Regions from separate parts of the Homo sapiens genome. Here region 2 is linked to region 1. The links are contacts of gene promoters, found by promoter capture Hi-C in human tissues and cell types (Jung and others, 2019). All regions are on one chromosome and are shown on one strand. Each heading gives the region's core, a stretch centred on a gene start or on the middle of the fragment in contact. The rest is flanking DNA. Distances are from core to core; before and after follow the strand shown. Region 1 holds the start of GTSF1L (gametocyte specific factor 1 like). Region 2 has its middle 180 kb from the start of CHD6.

Region 1 (4,005 bases), core at 786-3,285:
ACATATTCATGTCTTCTCCCGCAACTCTCCCCAAATGGTGGCATACTGTATAGACTGCTCTGGACTTGTTTTTGTTTTTTCTTTTCTTTTTCCTTTTTTTTTTTTGAGACAAAGTCTCGCTCTGTCACCCAGGCTGGATTGCAATGGCGTGATCTCGGCTAACTGCAGCCTCTGCTCCCGGGTTCAAGCTATTCTCCTGCCTCAGCCTCTTGAGTAGCTGGGATTACAGGTGCCCACCACACGCCCGGCTAAATTTTGTATTTTTAGTAGAGATGGGGTTTTGCCATGTTGGCCAGGCTGGCCTCGAACTCCACACCTCAGGTGATTGGCCCGCCTCCGGCTCCCAAAGTGCTGGGATTACAGGCATGAGCCACCGGGCCCGGCCTGGACTTGGTTTTTATCAGTTAAACTGGGGGTTGGCAAACCATGGCCCACCAGTCAAGTCCAGCCTGCCACCTGTGGCTGTAAGGCATTTTATTGGAACCTCTGTTCATTTGTTTACATATTATATGTGGCTGCTCTCGTGTTGCAGTGGCAGGGCCGAGTAGTTGCAACACAGACTGTGTGGCTGACAAAGGCTAAGATATTTGCCATCTGGCCTTTTACAGAAACAGTTTGCTGACCTCTGAGCTCAACAGTGTGTCTCAACCTTTCTATATCAGCACAGAAAGAGCTTCCTCACTTTTTTTAAGGCGGCATAATATTTTGTTGTATGGCTGCAGTATAACTTATTTTTAATCAGGCCCTTTTAATGGATATTTAGGTCATTTTTGACTTTTTTTTTTGTTGCTTAAGACAGGATCTCACTATGTTGCCCAGGCTGAACTCAAGCGATCCTCTCGCCTCAGCTCCCAGAGTAACAGGCTACAGCTGTGATTCAACACACCTGGCTCATTTCTAACTCTTTTGCTGCTGCAAATAATGCTGCAGTGAATAAGCTAGTACTTAGCTCATTTTCCACATGTGTGATTATATTTACAGAATGAAGCCTGGAAGTGGAATTGCTCAATCAAAGCCTGTATGCATTGATAATGTTTATAGCTATTGTCAAATTGCCCTCTGTGGAGGTTGTACCAACTGACATTCTCACCAATGTTATGAAAGTGCCCATTTTGCCCTACCTTTGCCAGCAGAGTATTTTAAGCCTTTTGATATTTATCAATCTGCCAGGTTAAAAAAAGAGGTAGCCCAGGGTAGTTTACTTTGCATGTCTTTTATTCTGATGCATTGCACGTTCTTCCATGCATTGATGAGGCGTGTGCTCCTTCCTCAGCTGGCAGTTTACTGTCCTGGTCTGAGGATCTTCTGGGGACTGGTCTCTCTTGCTGACTCTTTCGTGTCATTTTCACAAACAACCTTTTGAGGAAAAAAAGTCTTAAGGACAAACACATGCTGGCAATTAGCGCCATCGACATTCCAGATATCGGGGCTGGGAAGGCAGGGTGAGACCTGCTGGGTGTCATCGTTCTGCTCTGAACTAGGAGGACTGACTTTCAGAGGGTTCTCGGTGTCCTCTTCTTCCACAGCGCTCCTGTTGACACAAACAGCCTCATGTTCCTCCAGATTTTTGATGGGGACCACGTGGCAGGCGTTGTATTTGCAGGTGGCCATCTTTTTGGCTTTCTTGGGGTTCTTTCTCCTGCACGATGCCAGGTGGTACTGGAATCTGCTGAGTGGGATTCGGTGGTGAGGATCATAAGGGCAAATTTCAAAGGCTTCTGGCTCCATGAGAAATTCTTGAAGCAGGGTATCTCACTGCTAGAGTCTAACGGAAATGCTTCTTGTGGAGAAGCCCTTTTGTAAGAAGGATGGAGTTGTCCTCTGCCCAGTTTTGGCCCTTGGGATTCTGTAGGTGACGGTCTTAACTTGTGGTCTGTTCTCTAGGACTGTGAGTGGTGGATTAGAAGAGAGATGAGGAGCTGCCAAAAGCAGCTACACAGAGAACAGAGTTAGCAAATGGCACCCGAGACAGAACTATAGCAGATGCAAGAGCCAAAAACCCACAGCCGCTTGACTCACGGATATACTATGATGTCAAGCTGCAGTCACCGGTGGTCACAATGGGCAGCCTAAGTCATCAGGAAGAGGCTATTGTGCACTGCTTGGGAGGGGTGGATGGCTTTGGGAATGCTGCCATCTAAAATTGCTCATGGATGTATGTTGTGACTTAAGTCTTTTAACTGTACGTATTTGTTTTTTGTTTTTGTTTTTGTTTTATTTGAGACAGAGTCTCGCTCTGTTGCCAGGCTGGAGTACAGTGGTGCGATCTTGGCCCACTGCAATCTCCGCCTCCCAGGTTCAAGTGATTCTCCTGCCTCAGGCTCCCGAGTAGCTGGGATTACAGGCACCTGCCATCATGCCCGGCTAATTTTTTGTATTTTTAGTAGAGACGGGTTTCACCATGTTGGCCAGGCTGGTCTTGAACTCCTGACCTCAGGTGATCCACCCGCCTCAGCCCCCCAAAGTGCTGGGATGATAGGTGTGAGCCCCTGCGCTTTGCCAGGGCTGGTTTTTGGATGTGATTCTCAGGGCCGTCTTTCTTTACCCTTCTGCTCTGCTGAGGCCCACAGCAGCCTAGTCTCCTTGGGTGTGGGGGAAGGGTTTAAATCTATTCATATATCGCAGAAGGTGAAGCCTTTTGGTGTTCAGCTTAACATGGGAAACATTTCCTATAAAACGCCCCATCTTAGGTCGACCCTGCCGTTGTCCCTCACAGAACTGGACCAAAGTCTGAATGGACGCAATTGACACATATCTCAGGGTGTTAGTGGTTTTGGTCCTCTGACATTCTATTTACATGTCTGGTGTTAGGTAGGATTTCTTCTAAAAATTGGCCTGGAGCTCCTTCCCACCCCCCACCCTGTTAAATTGTTTCTCAAGATCTGAGTGACAGTAGAGAAATACCATATTCCTGAATAGGAAGACTCAAAATCATAAATGAATATTCTCTGTAAACTAAATTACATAAATTACATAGTCATCCTAAATTGATACATAAATATAATGCAATTCCAAATAATTTTTGTAGCTTTATGTGCTGATATCTGATAGAGCAAGTCTCTGCTTGTTATTAGTTTTCCCCCCAAAAGCCTTGACTATCTTCAAGGATTTGTTATTCTAGATCATGTGTCAACAAACTATGGGCCCATGATTCAAATCCAGATGGCTATCTGCTTTTGTAAATAAAGTTTTATTGAAGCACAGCCACACCCATTTGTTTATATATTGTCCATTGGCTGCTTTTGAGCTAGATTTGAGTAGTTGCAACAGAATCCAGATGACCTAGAAACCTCTAATGTTTTCTGTCTGGCCCATTATAGAAAAAGCTCACCCATCCTATTCTTGGTGGTGGTTAAGGAAGCTGACTGTATTCAAATTCTACCTCCTGCCACTTACCAGCCATGTGACCTTGGGGAAGGTGTGTGTGTGAGTGTGTGTGTGTGTATGTGTGTGTGTGTGTTTCCTGGTATTTACTAAGCTCTATTGATGGTGTCTTTTCAGGTAGGCTTTGTAGTTTTCTTTCTATTTTTTGCACGTTAAAAAAAAATTAATCTATGATGCTTTATGGTTTTTTCTTTTTCTTTTTTTTTTGTCATTGTAAATGACACTTTTTCCATCTCTCCACATCCTAGCTATGGTGTTCAGCCTTTTTTGAGAATTGAAGTGATTGGCTTTGTCTACATTGTTACATAATTGCAACTGATCATACATGTGGGATGTCTTGTTACTATCATATGACATGCAGACAATTTAGCAACATGACACTCACTGATGTCATAGTAAGAAATTGTAATGGGAACCCAGGTATAGACAAAAGATTAGACAAAGGATTCTAAAAAAAGGCATCTTTCATAACTACACCATTTATTCTGGGTGTGCCAGTCAGGATAGGCAAGGTTAGGCTGCAATAACGTACAGTGCCAAAACTTCAGTAGCTTAAAACAACGAAGGCTTATGAGTCACTTTCAAGTCTAAAGCAGGTTTCTGGGTTGGGGAGGGGTATTG
Region 2 (4,578 bases), core at 376-2,875, 1.9 Mb before region 1:
GTTAAAACAGGTTAAAGCTGAGAAGCAGCAGCCAGCAAAAGCCTTGACTGAAAGATGAGCACCTTGAGACCTCTTACTGCAAAATAAATTCTGTAGATTGCATCTCCACCTGTTGGTTGGGATACTGATTCTATTCCACTATGAGGAGGTAGCCATTTCCTTCCTAGCCCCTCTCCAATTTACTGCTAGACCAGGGGTGGCAAACCTTTTCTATAAAGGGCCAGGCAGTAAACATTTTGGTCTTTGCGATCCATATGGTCTGTGTTGCAACCTGTCAACTCTGCTACTGTATGAAAGCAGCCATGGGCAATATGTAAATTGATGGGCATGGCCGTGTTCTAATAAAACTATATTTGTGGACACTGAAATTTGAATTTTACATACTTTTCACGTGTCACAAAATATTCTTTTGATTTTTTTTCAACAATTTCAGTGTAAAACCCATTCTTAGCTTGTGGGTCATATAAAAACTGGTGGCAGGCCAGATTTGGCCTATAGGCTATAGTCAGCTGATCCTTGTACTAGACCATAAACCTTACAAGGATAGAATCTTTTCTGCTCACTATCATATACCCAGGACCTGTCGCAGTGCCTCATACACAGTGGCCACTCAAAAAAAATCTGTTGAATGAATGAATGAATGAATGAATACAGTCTGTCTATTCTCCTTTGTTTCCTCTTCTCTGAATTTGTCCAAAGAAAATATGAGGTAAGGAAGCTGAGAAAGAGTAATCAGAAGGTATCCAATGCCTTCTCTTGTCTACATCTTAGGTAGGAATTCACAAAGCTTCTGATTTTAGTGAAAAGAAAGATTAAATAAAAGTCTCTGTAAGGGCTTTAGTTGTCAATCTGCCCTGAAGTTCAGAAATACTAAACTCAGAGCTCAAATATGCCAAGAATGTTTTTTTTTTTAAGCCTAAGAATAAATCTAGAATTATAAAGTTGTTTCCTACTTAACCCCAGAGGGTACACTGAGATTAAGTATAATTGTTTATAGTTGTGAGTTAGTAAGGATGTGTTCATAATGCAAAGAACTGCGTGGTTTTAAATGTTCTAAGTTGTGCATTACTTTAAAAATATATGGTAACGAGATATGAATAATTGGTGTTTGGTGAGGTTGAAGTTTCTGTAAAATGTATTTCAGGCTGTGCATTGGAGCTGTAAAAGTGCAACACTGACACCTTCCATGAAAAACCAGGCGGGTGCTGGAGGCCATAACTGAGACAGTGTTGAGCATGGAGGAACAGGTCATGTCAATGAGCTTTAACCAATAAAGCATCTTGGAAACATCTGAGAAATCAAAAATATGACTTGCAAAGGGTGATTATATACATGGGGAGGATAACTAGGAAAGAGCCTCAAAGGCTAGACCTTCCTTCTGGGATAGGGGAGGAGGATATATGCCCTTTGGGAAGAGAACAGAGCTAGCTAGGCACTTCAGATCAGAGCTGTGGGTGCTAACAACTAATTTGTGCTGGTTGAAACTTACCATTGTCCAAGACCTTCCCTTTCTGGGTCATTCTTAACAATTACTATTATACTTTAATAATTCAATATAGAGTATTTATATATATGTGTGTATATATATATATATATATATATATATATATATATATATAACTTTTTAAATAGAGCTTAACTGGATGGAGACATTCACTGTGTTGCTGAAATCCCTTTTATTCAGACCATGATTCCGTTATTGTTTATTTTTTCTGCTTTTCCAGCACTCATTACCTCCTTCATTGTAATGGGGGCGGGCCTCATCCCTCTGCCTCTTTCCATTTAACTGAGGCGGCTCTCACCCTCTGGACCAGGCAAGGGCACATGATCTTGGGCTAGCCAATCAAAACATTTCATTCTTCTAGCCATAGTGATTGGTTCAGGAATGAGCATATGACCTAAGCTAGACCAATGAGAACCATTCCCAGGTCTTTCCTGAGCCCACTGATTAAGTAGTTAAGCTTCTAGGCTGCTAACTGGAAGCTTCTGTTGGTGACTTCCTTGAGGGAGGATTTTTTTTTTTTTTTTTTTTTTTTGAGACAGAGTCTTGCACTGTCACCCAGGCTAGAGTGCAGTGGCATGATCTTGGCTCACTGCAACCTCCGCCTCCTGGGTTCAAGTGATTCTCCTGCCTCAGCCTCCCGAGTAGCTGGGATTATAGACATGTACCACCATGCCCCGCTAATTTTTGTATTTTTAGTAGAGACGGGGTTTCACCATGTTGGCCAGGCTGGTCTTGAACTCCTGACCTCGTGATCCACCTGCCTTGGCCTCCCAAAGTGCTGGGATTACAGGCCTGAGCCACCGCGCCTGGCCTGAGGGAAGGACCTCTTGAGAAGGGAGGTATCACAAAGATGGCCACTGCCAATTTACCTTCCCTTGTGGATCTTTTGCTTTCTAATCTTCGCTGTGGTGGGGAATAATCTCTACTCAAAGTGTTTGGTGGATTACATGAAAAATACACAGCAGGTATTTGGAAGCATTTCCATCTTCCTTTCTTCCTTCTTTCCTCTTTTTCTCCTATCTCTCTTTTCTTCCCTCCCTCCTTCCTTCTCCCCAACCTTACCTTCCTTTCAAGGAACTTTCCCCAAAGGGAGATTATTTAGGTACAGGCTTGGCAACTTTTTCCCAGTGACTTCTCTTCCATGGGACTGGGGCAGCCACGGGGCAGTTTCTTGAAGGCTTCAGTGAAGGTGAGATTTGTAGGGCTTTTGTGATCACCTGGAGGATGCAGGGCTGAGATTGGTAGAGGGTGGAGGTTAAAGGAGCAGATCCTTTTTGGCCATGAAAAAGAACTTTCTAACCAAAGCATTTTTCAATAAAGGCAAGAGCATCTTAGGTGGTGTTTCCAACCTGGGGCATCCAGCCAAGGATTAATGGCCATCTCTCAGTGTATTAGGATTCTCCAGAGAAACAGAATCAATATAATATGTTTGTGTGGATGTATTTTAAAAACTAATTTATTTTAAGGAATTGACTCACATGATTGTGGAAGCTGGCAAGCCCAAAACCTATAGAGTAGGCTGGCAGGTTCCAGGCTACCCTGGCACCCAGGGAATAGTTGATATGGCAGCTTGAGTTTGAAGACAGTCTGGAGGCAGAATTTCTTCTTCCCCAGGGTACCACAATCTGTTTTTTCTTAAGGCCTTCAACTGATTGGATGAGGCCCACTTACATTACAGAAGGTAACCTGCTTTACTCAAGGTCTACTGATTTAAATGTAAATCTCATCTGAAAAATACCTTCACAGTAACATCCAGACTGATGTTTGACCAAACGTCTGCGTACTGTGGACTAACCAGGTTAACATATAAAATTAACCATCATGAGTCTACCCTTGTCAACTTCGTGCCCATTCACATTTCTGTAAGTCATTTTAATCTCCAAATAGAGACAATAACAAGATTATGCTTCTGCCTAACATGATACAACCGTCCTGTGTGCAACTGAAAACATGCTAACCCTTTCTCCGGAAAATACAAAGTCTTTGAGTGATACTTTTCTTCATGATATCCCGTAGCTTAAGTACTATGATGTAAAGTTAACAATACGTAAATACCGTGATATAAAGTCAACACGTTACATGACAAGGGGAGAAAAAAGGGAAGAAAACAAAGATATTTGCTTCTTACATACATGCAAACTTTCCATAAAAAATAAGGAATAAAAACTCATGATAATTATGTTTCCCATTTCTATAGCTGGTCACAGCTGGTGTTTATAACTACCTTCTTCTGTCCGTTCTGTATTTCCTTTGCCCTTGACAAGCACCTCAGCTAGTTGTGGCTTTTGACTTGCTGGGGTGACTCTAACCTTCATTTCTGAAGGGTCCAGGTCATTAGTCCTAGGATGGGGTTGTTACAGTTTTGCACTGACTTTAATCACAAGGCATGATAATACTAAGTGATGCTCTCAGGAATCTCTTATATTCCAAACACACTCTTCCTTACCTACATTGTGGAATAGCAGTCCGATTTCCCCTTGGTAGTCAGGATTAATCAGCCCAGCCAGCATAGTAACTTTCTTACTTGCTGTTGCTTCAGAGGCAGGAGAATCCCAGAGTAGCGGTTTTAACTTCTAGTTCAACAGGATTGTTGGGTCTCCTGATGAAAGTGTTCCTCCCCTTAGAACCAGGACCTCTAGGCCAGCATAGCATAAGGTTGCAGAAACAAGCAAAAATTTTGATAGTGGGTCACTAGGGGAAATCGTGAGTGGCGTCACTCTCATTCCCACTCCTGGATTCCTGAACCCATGAATTCTGGCTATGGGAGAAACAGCACCATATATTGGACACTGATTCAGAGCTTCTACAGCCTCCTGGGGAACCCTGCCCTAGCCTTGCAAGGTATTGTCACCTAGCTGGGGCTGTAACTAAACCTTCAAAAGTTCATTCTACTATTCTGTCAAGCCAACTGCATTAGAATGGTGGGAAACATGGTTAAACCAGTGAATTTCATGAGTGTGGGAAGTGAGTTCCCTGATCAGAAGCAGTGCTGCGTGGAACACCATGATGGTGGATGATACATCCTGTAAACCCATGGATGGTAGTTTTGGCAGAAGCACTGCATGTAGGGAAGG

What was found. Contacts are between HindIII fragments. The study calls those that stand out against the background at their distance.
Region 2: a contact is called between a fragment that was not itself captured here and the fragment with the promoter of GTSF1L in region 1, in 1 of the 25 tissues and cell types used here (dorsolateral prefrontal cortex).

The regions. Positions count from the first base shown.
Region 1 is chr20:43,724,967-43,728,971 of GRCh38, forward strand. It overlaps GTSF1L (gametocyte specific factor 1 like), which reads right to left and starts at 2,036. Exons shown (of 1, transcript NM_176791.4): 1 at 1,198-2,036. The coding sequence starts at 1,728. The coding sequence ends at 1,282. LOC101927200 (a long non-coding RNA gene) reads left to right here and starts at 3,953. Exons shown (of 4, transcript XR_936741.3): 1 at 3,953-4,005. The HindIII fragment of the contact is 17,400 bases long and covers 1-4,005 here.
Region 2 is chr20:41,791,937-41,796,514 of GRCh38, forward strand. No RefSeq gene overlaps it. Among named protein-coding and RNA genes, the nearest start is that of CHD6, 180 kb to the left of the region's middle. The HindIII fragment of the contact is 4,306 bases long and covers 1-3,778 here.